3 separate regions of the Homo sapiens genome follow, and regions 1 and 3 are each linked to region 2. Evidence: promoter capture Hi-C in human tissues and cell types (Jung and others, 2019). All regions are on one chromosome and are shown on one strand. Each heading gives the region's core, a stretch centred on a gene start or on the middle of the fragment in contact. The rest is flanking DNA. Distances are from core to core; before and after follow the strand shown.

Region 1 (2,807 bases), core at 308-2,807, 82 kb before region 2:
TTGCAAAACAATAATCCACAAATACAGGAAGCTCAACAAACTCCAAGAACAATAAGCACAAAGAAATCCACAAACTAACACATCATACAAAACGAAAATCTTGAAAGCAGCATGAGAAAAACAAATCATCACTTACAAGAGAACTTTGGTAAGATTAACAACAGACTTCTTAATAGAAACAATGGAGACCAGTAGATAGTGGTACAACAATTAAAAGTGCTCAAAAAAGACCTCTCAACAAAAACGCCTATATCTAGCAAAGATATCTTTCAAAAATGAAGGTGAAAGTTAAGACTTTCCAAAATAAACAAAAACTGAGAGAATTTGTTGCTAACCAATCCACCTCACAAGAAATACTGAATGAAGTTCTTAAGACTGAAAGCAAGTGACCCCAGACAGTAATTCAAATCCACAGGAAGGCCAGGTACAGTTCCTCATACCTGTAATCCCAGCACATTTGAGGGCTGAGGTGGGAAGATTGCTTGAGGACAGGAGTTCGAGACCAGCCTAGGCAATATAGTGAGACTTTGTCTCTACAAAAAAATAAATTAGGTGGGTGTGGTGGCACATGCCTGTAGTCCCAACTATTTGGGAGGCTGAAGCAGGAGGATTGATTGAGCCCAGAAGGTTGAGGCTGCAGTGAGTCACGATCACTCCACTGCACTCCAGCCTGGGTAACAGAGTGAGATCCTGTCTCAAAAAAATAAAAAATCCACATGAAAAAACAAAGAGCACTGGTAAAGGTAATTATGTAATTATAAAAGGCAATATAAATGCAGAATTTTCTCTCTTCTTCTGTTAATTAATTTAATTTAATTTAATTTTTTATTTTATTTATTTATTTATTTTTTGAGACAGAGTCTCGCTCTGTCGCCCAGGCTGGAATGCAGTGGAGTGCAGCTCACTGCAAGCTCCGCTTCCTGGGTTGACGCCATTCTCCTGCCTCAGCCTCCAGAGTAGCTGGGATTACAGGCACCCGCCACTACGCCCGGCTAATTTTTTGTATTTTTAGTAGAGAGGGGGTTTCACCATGTTAGCCAGGGTGGTCTCCATCTCCTGACCTCGTGATCCACCCACCTCGGCCTCCCAAAGTGCTGGGATTACAGGCGTGAGCCACCACGCTGTTAATTAATTTTAAAAAGCAATTATACAAGGGGACTTCAAAAAGTTCATGATAATGGAATTAAAAGATAAAAATTAAAATATAAGCTTTATTCTCATTAGCCGGGCATGGTGGCACACACCTGTAATCCCAGCTATTTGGGAGGCTGAGGCAGGAGAATTGCTTGAGTCTGGAAGGTGGAGATTGCAGTGAGGTGAGATCGCGCCACTGCACTCCAGTCTGGGCAACAGAGTGAGACCCTGTCTCAAAAAAAAAAAATTAATAATAATAATAATGATACTCTAAGAAAAAATAAAAATATAAACTTTATTCTCAGTGTAAGATCCATAAGGTTCAAGATACTTTTGTAAGCAGTGATACAAGCCATTTAGTATGTCCCTAAAGAACTGAGTGTCTTGGGAATTTAACCATGTCAATGTAGTCCTTTTTACATTGTTAACTGAAGAAAAATGGGTGCCCTTTATAGATTTTTTAAGATTAGGAAAAAAAAGAATGAGGAGGAACTAAATCAGGACTTTAAGGTAGATGCCTAATAATTTCCCACCAAAATGTTTATAAAATTGCCCTCGTTTGATGAGAGGAATGAGCTGGAGCATGGTCATGGTGGAGATGGACACTCTGGTGAAGCTTTCCCAGACGTTTATTTTGCTAAATCTTTGGCTCACTTTTGGCCAGGTGTAGTGGCTCATGCCTGTAATCTCAACACTTTGGTAGACCAAGGCAGGCAGAGTGCTTGAGCTCAGGAGTTTGAGACCAGCCTGGACAACATGGTGAAACCCCATCTCTACAAAAAATACAAAATGTAGCTGGGCATGGTGGCACATACCTGTAGTCCCAGCTACTTGGGAGGCTGAGGTGGGAGGATTGCTTGAGCCCAGGAAACAGAGGTTGCAGTGAGCCAAGTTCCCACAACTGCACTCCAGTCTGGGTGACAGAGCCAGACCCTGTCTGAAAGAAAAAAAAACAAAAAAAGCTTTGGCTAACTTTCTCGAAACATTCTCACAAGAAGCAGATATTATCATTCTCTGGTCATCCAGAAAGTCAACAAGCAAAATGCCTTGAGCATCCCAAAAAAACCATTGCCATGACCTTTGGTCTTGACTGGACTCTTGCTTTGACCAGCCCACTTCCACCTCTTGGTAGCCAGTGCTTCGTCTTCAGGATAATGTTAGTAAAGCCAGGTTTCATCATCTGTCACAGTTTTTCAAAGAAATGCTTCAGGATCTTGATGCCACCTGTTTAAAATTTCCATTGAAAGTTCTGCTCTCGTCTGCAGCTGATCTGGTTGCAACGGTTTTGGCATCCATCAAGTGGAAAGTTTGCTCAATTTTAATTTTGCAGTCAGAATTGTGTAAGCTGAACCAACTGAGATGTCTATACTGTTGGCTACTGTTTCTACTATTAATCATCCTTCAATTAGGGCAATCGTCCCCTTCAATTAGGGCATGAACAAGATAAATGTTTTCCTCACAAGTTGATGTGAATGGTCTGCTGCTGCAGGCTTCATTTTTAACATCCTTTCCTCCTTTCTTTTTTTAATTTAATTTATTTTTTAAATTACTATAAAGTTCTAGGGTACATGTGTAAAATGTGCAGGTTTGTTACATAGGTATATGTGTGCCATGTTGGTTTGCTGTACCCATCAACTCGTCATTTACATTAGGTATTTCTCCTAACACTATCC
Region 2 (3,075 bases), core at 77-2,576:
CCAAAATATTTTTATTTTTTAAATACATGGAATGTTAGTCTAACAAAAACATTATTTATTTCCCCAATTCTCTGACATTTGCCTAACCATGGAAAACCAGGATTTCCCAGGAGCACCTAGAAGGCAGGGAAAAGGGACGGGTGCCTCTGGCATTGCTTCCCTACGTACTGTTCTAATAAACCCCAATATGTGAAGCAAAACCAAGTGGCTTAGGCCTGCAGGGGCCAAATGACCAGAGTCAGGCAGCCATAATAGGTATAGAAACCAAGATCAAACCAAGTCACCCTATTTTCCTAACACAATTTCAGGAAAATCGAAGCTCTCTAATAGGGAGTCTCAAGATTTGCCACCTTCCTCATGGAGGGGTGAAAGGAATGCCTTATCAGGCACTTCAAAAGCGGGCCTTTGTCCTTTTGGTGCTGCAGCCAGGATGAAGTGGGCTTTGAGACCTTCACAAAAAGGCATCGGCCATTTTCATAAGAGGGAAAGCAGAGAGGTGAAGCTGGTTCCTACTTAGGACCCCGTGGGCTGTGGAGTGAGGAGAAAAAGCCATAGGATACAGATTACATCCTCTCATTAGTGATTAAAATCCATCAATCCTGCCAGAAGCTGCATGGCCCCAGGTATATCACTTCTCTCCCTAAGCTTTTTCATCTGTAAAATGGGGATCTCCGTTTCTCTCTCTGCACGTTTGCCATGTAGGTGACAGGGGCTAACGGACTTCGAATGCATACTGCAAAGGTGATGGTTTGAGCTAATAATAATAGTAATACAAATAACAATAGCAACCTTTGAACCCGCCATGTATTTAGCTCTTCACCCTTTAATTATTACAGCCATCATAACCACCCTTTTACCAGAAGAGAAAACTGAGGCTCAAAGATAAGGATCTTTCCAAGGGGCCTCCAGGGTGGGAATCAGTCTTCGGGCCGACCAATGCGGATGGAGGTTGGGCCCGGGTTCAGTCTGGGGCAGAGGTTCGGGTCAGGGGTGAGCCCTGGGAGAGGCCTTGAGGGTCGGAAGATAGGGGACAGGATCAGCCGGCCGGCAGGGGTCCGCACCTGCAGCCTAGGAAGAGATGGTTGGCCCAGACCATGGAGAGGGAGAGCAGCTGGTCCAGGCGGCCACTGCCGTCGGGCGGGTCGCGGTAGTCGGGCAGGTGGCGCAGGATGAATTCCATGCGGGCCTTCCATTGCTTCTCGCTCTCTGAGTAGGAGCGGAACTGCTCCGCGAAGTCGGCCGCCTGCCGCACCCCCGAAACCAGCTCCTCCACTGCGGCAGCCGCCTCGCCACCGACCATGGTGCCCGCCGCAGCCGAGGACCGGATAGCCCGCCGCCTTCCCGACGCGCACTGCGCCACCGCCTGCCGGCCAGAGGGGCCCCATCAGCGCACGACTGCTCCAGAAGACCAACCTGGAGCGCCCTCGCCCGGAGCGGCGGCCTGCGGGGGCACAGAGCGGCTCCTGGCTCCTCAGACCGCCGCAGCCCGTGGCTCCTGCCCTGGGTCTACCCAGGGCTACAAGGGTCTTTTGCGGTCGACCCTGCGGGGAACCGGTGGGAAAACTGAGGTCCCTAAACACAGATTCGGAGCGCCCTCTTCCAGTTGGCAGCTGGATGCCAGCCAGAGCTATGCTGTGCCCTTGCCCTGAGAGTTTCCCGGGCACCGCCTCATCCTGAGCGACATCAGGGGGCCCGGGTCACGGTCGACTTCCAGGGGTCTCCACAGCCACGAAGGTTGGGGCCCGCCTTCCTGGAGCGAGTAATCCATCCATCCCGTGAATACTTGCCAGGCACATTGCTAGGTGCTGGAGAGGCAATGAGAGCACATTCGGAGCCCTGCTCGCCTGAACTTTACCATGGAGTGGAGGAGTGGACATTAGTGACATAATTGCTCAAGTAAATGGAGAATTTCAGCGTTGACAAGTATTAGTAAAGAGAAGTTCAGCGTGCTACAACCATGAATAAGCAAGGGACCCAATCTAGTCTTGGGGTCAGGGAAGTGATCCTGGAGAAGTGAAGAATGAGCAGTTTTCTGAGTAAAGGGGAGTCGGTCAAAGCAAGAGAGAGCATGGCCTGGTAAGAGAATTGCAAGATAGGGGGTAGGAGGGGTTGGGGGGCGGGGCAGGGCAGGTAGAGAATGGAGAAGATGAAGTTGCAGAGGTCAGCAAGGCCAGTAGGCCAGGCAGGGATCCTGGCTAGATCCCAAGAATGGGGAGCCGCTGAAGGATTTTAACCAGAACAGTGACACCTGTGTTTACAAAAGATGCTGGAAGGAGCCAGAAACAATGTGTCCAGAGGAAATGAGCAAGTTTGGACTTGGTTTTAAATAGAGACAGGGTTTCGCCATGTTGCCCAGGCTGGTCTCGAACTCCTGAGCTCAAGTGATCCGTCTCCCTCAGCCTCCCAAAATGCTGGGATTACAGGTATGAGCCATCGTAACTGGCTGGACCTGAAAGTTTTTATTTAGCTGGCATGACTCTGCTGTCTGTTCGAGTCTCAGGTAGCAGACACACTGAGAGAAAAAAGAGCTTCCTTTTAAGTGGTGAATTTTCCATCCCTGGAAGCATTCAACTACAGTAACTGGGTGTTGGGGCTCAGAAACCAACACCCCAAAATGTATTTTGACATGCTGAACTGATGAAGAAGCCTCAAGGTCTCTGTGACCTCCGCCACCAACACACACTCCTGTCTGTCAATTCTTTGTTCCTCCCAAAGCACAAGATGAAGTTGTTCCCTTATCTGCCTAAATTTAGTCCAGAACGCCAAAGGAAACAATTATCTCTGGTTCCCTCCCTGAGTTTTCATTAAGTGAATTTGTTTTGCAGGAGGAAAGACTGAAGTATGGTCAACACACTAGGACAGACTTTTGTCACAAACCCTTGTCTCCTCTGCAGGCCCAACAGACTTTGTCCCAGGCCATTGCATGTTCTTCAAGCCCATTGAATTACCCTAAAAATCATTTACTACCCATCTAAAATATTCACACTCTGGATGATGGGGTAATCACTCTGTGATTAACTATGCACATTAATAAACTTGTATGTCTTTTCTCTTTTTTTTTTTTTTTTGAGAGCA
Region 3 (2,830 bases), core at 329-2,828, 75 kb after region 2:
CTCAAAATCAACTCCAGTGTCATATGGCCCTAAATATAAAAGACAAAATTACAAAGCTTTAAAGTAATAATGTAGAAGAATATCTTCATAGTCTTGGATTTTAAAAGTTTTCTTAAGTAAGGTACAAAAAGTAATATCGCAAAGGAAAGATGGACAAAATTAGGAATATCTGTTCATCAAAAGACAACATTGAGTGAAAGGCCAGCCACAGAGTAATAGAAGATAATTGCAACAGATAAAACTGACAAAAATCTTGTTGCTAGAATATATACAGAATTCATATCAATTAGTGATAAAAGACAGGCAATCCAGCAGAAAAATGGGCAAAAGATAGGAACTTTACAAAAAAGAAATCCAAAAGTCAGTAACATAAAAATGTGATCAACTTCTTTAGTAATGTGGGAAAGGTAAAATAAAAGCATAATAAAGTACTACTACACACTTACCAAACTGACCAAAATTTAAAATTTTGACAATTCCAAGTTTTAGCAAAAACACTCATTCATGTAAATTTACACAAACTTGTATAACTACTTTAGAATACAGTTCAGCATTATCCAATTAAGCTGAAAATAACATACTCTATGCCCCAGCAATTCTGCTCTTAGATAAATATCCTACAGAAAAGTGAGCTTACGTGCATCAGGAAACATGGACAAGAATGTTCATAGAAGCATTGTTTGTAGTAGTCTTGTCATAGGTCAGGTTCTCAGGAAACATGCTGGGATAGAGTTTGGGGTACAAGATATTTATTAGGATCAACATTGATATGGTTTGGATATTTGTCTCCTTCAAATATCATGTTGAAATGTGACCCACAATGCTGGAGGTGGGCCTAGTGGTAGGCATCGGGTCACAGGGCTGATCCCTCATGAATGGTTTGGTGCCCTTGCTGCAGTAATGAGTGGTAATGAGTTCACAGGAGAGCTGGTTGTTTAAAGGAGCCTGTTACTTCCTCCTCTCTTGCTCCATCTCTTGCCATGTGACACACCTGCTCCCCCTTTGCCTTCCACCATGAGAGGAAGCTTCCTGAGGTCCTTCCATAAAGTAGATGCTGGCAGCATCATGCTTCATGTACAGCCTGCAGAATGGTGAGCCAAATAAGCCTACTTTTTTTTTCTTTTTTTTCCTGCTCTTCTCCCTCCACCTCTTTTCTTTCTTTTTTCTTTTTTTTTTTTTTGAGATGGAGTTTTGCTCTTGTTGCCCAGGCTAAAGTACAATGACGTGACCTCGGCTCACTGCAACCTCCTTCTCCTGTGTTCAAGCAATTCTCCTGCCTCAACCTTCCGAGTAGCTGGGATTATGGGCACCCACCACCACATTGGGCTAATTTTTGTATATTTAGTAGAGACAGAGTTTCACAGTGTTGGCAAGGCTGGTCTCGAACTCCTAACCTCAGGTGATCCGACCACCTAGGCCTCCCAAAGTGCTGGGACTACAGGCATGAGCCACCACACCCGACCCTCTTTTCTTAATAAATTACCCAGTCTCAGGGATTCCTTTATAGCAACACAAATAGACTAATACAAACATCTCTGAAGGGAAGGGAGAAAAAGCAGGATTGGGCAGAAGTTAAAACTGTGATGCAGGCCTAATGAAACCCAAGCCAAGCTGGCGGGGAACTCTGGTGCAAATAGTCTGCATCTGAGTTGTCCTGTGTTGGATGAAAATGGCCCAGCCTCCATTCACTTGCTTTCGTTGGATACTAGATGCAAAGTGCTCTGGAAAGGATATGATGTTGGGCAAGGCAGCTCTCTGCAGCTCAGGTGGACCCCAAAGAAGCTGTCATCTGAAGGTTTCTGCTGATCACACCCTCTACAACTGGACAGCAAATCCTTCCTTGAAGAGGGATCTGGGTGACACATCTCTCTGTCTACCACAGGGCCCAAACTGGAAACAACATAAATGCCTATCAAGTGAAGAAAGGTTAGACTCTGCAGTGTTCATATAATATACTCATAATCCCCTAGTGTCTCCTTGTGCCTCCTGATCCGTCACTATAGGTTGGTCTTTTTTCTAGAATCATATATTAATGGAACTATACAGTATATACTAATTATATTGAGGCTCATCTATGTTGTTGTATGTAACAGCAGTTCATTCCTTTTTATTGTTGAGCAGTATTCCATTATCTGGATATATGGCAATTTGTTTTTCCACTATCTTGTTGATAGACATTTGGATTATTCCCAGTTTGGGGCTGTTATAAATAAAGCAACTATGAACATTGTGTACAAAACTTTGTATGGACATATGCTTTCATTTCTCTTTGGTAAATACCTAGGAATGGAATGGCTGGGTCATATGATAGGTATATATTTATCTTTTTAAGAAATGATCTAAGTGTTTTCCGAAGTGGTTGTTCCATTTTGCGTTCTCATCAGCAGCATATGAGAGAGTTCCTGTTGTACCCTTCCTGGACTCCATCTTTGCCAATACTTGATTTGGTCAGTTATTTTGTTTTATTGTTTGTTTTTCTGTTTTGAGATGGAGTCTCGCCCTGTCGCCCAGCCTGGAGTGCGGTGGCAAGATCTCGGCTCACTGCAATCTCCACCTCCTGGGTTCAAGCGATTTTCCTGCCTCAGTCTCCCAAGTAGCTGGGATTACAGGCGCATGCCACCATGCCCTGCTAATTTTTGTATTTTTAGTAGAGACAGGGTTTCACCATATTGGCCAGGCTGGTCTCAAACTCCCGACCTCAGGTGATCCGGCTGCCTCGGCCTATGAAAGTGCTGGGATTACAGATGTGAGCCACCACGCCTAGCCTGGTCAGTTATTTTAAATTCTAGCCCTTCTAGGGGGCATGTAGTTTTAATTTGTAGTTGCCTAA

Evidence for each region. Contacts are between HindIII fragments. The study calls those that stand out against the background at their distance.
Region 1: a contact is called between a fragment that was not itself captured here and the fragment with the promoter of CDKN2AIPNL in region 2, in 2 of the 25 tissues and cell types used here (bladder and dorsolateral prefrontal cortex).
Region 3: a fragment that was not itself captured here is called in contact with the fragment with the promoter of CDKN2AIPNL in region 2 in 3 of the 25 tissues and cell types used here (aorta, lymphoblastoid cells and pancreas).

Annotation. Positions count from the first base shown.
Region 1 is chr5:134,328,641-134,331,447 of GRCh38, forward strand. All of the region lies in intron 4 of CDKL3 (cyclin dependent kinase like 3), which reads right to left. Among named protein-coding and RNA genes, the nearest start is that of CDKL3, 37 kb to the right of the region's middle. The HindIII fragment of the contact is 4,026 bases long and covers 1-2,807 here.
Region 2 is chr5:134,410,555-134,413,629 of GRCh38, forward strand. It overlaps CDKN2AIPNL (CDKN2A interacting protein N-terminal like), which reads right to left and starts at 1,327. Exons shown (of 3, transcript NM_080656.3): 1 at 1,062-1,327. The coding sequence starts at 1,300. RefSeq lists enhancers at 719-1,457, 981-1,470, 1,458-2,195. The HindIII fragment of the contact is 17,979 bases long and covers 1-3,075 here.
Region 3 is chr5:134,485,779-134,488,608 of GRCh38, forward strand. No RefSeq gene overlaps it. Among named protein-coding and RNA genes, the nearest start is that of LINC01843, 19 kb to the right of the region's middle. The HindIII fragment of the contact is 6,099 bases long and covers 1-2,830 here.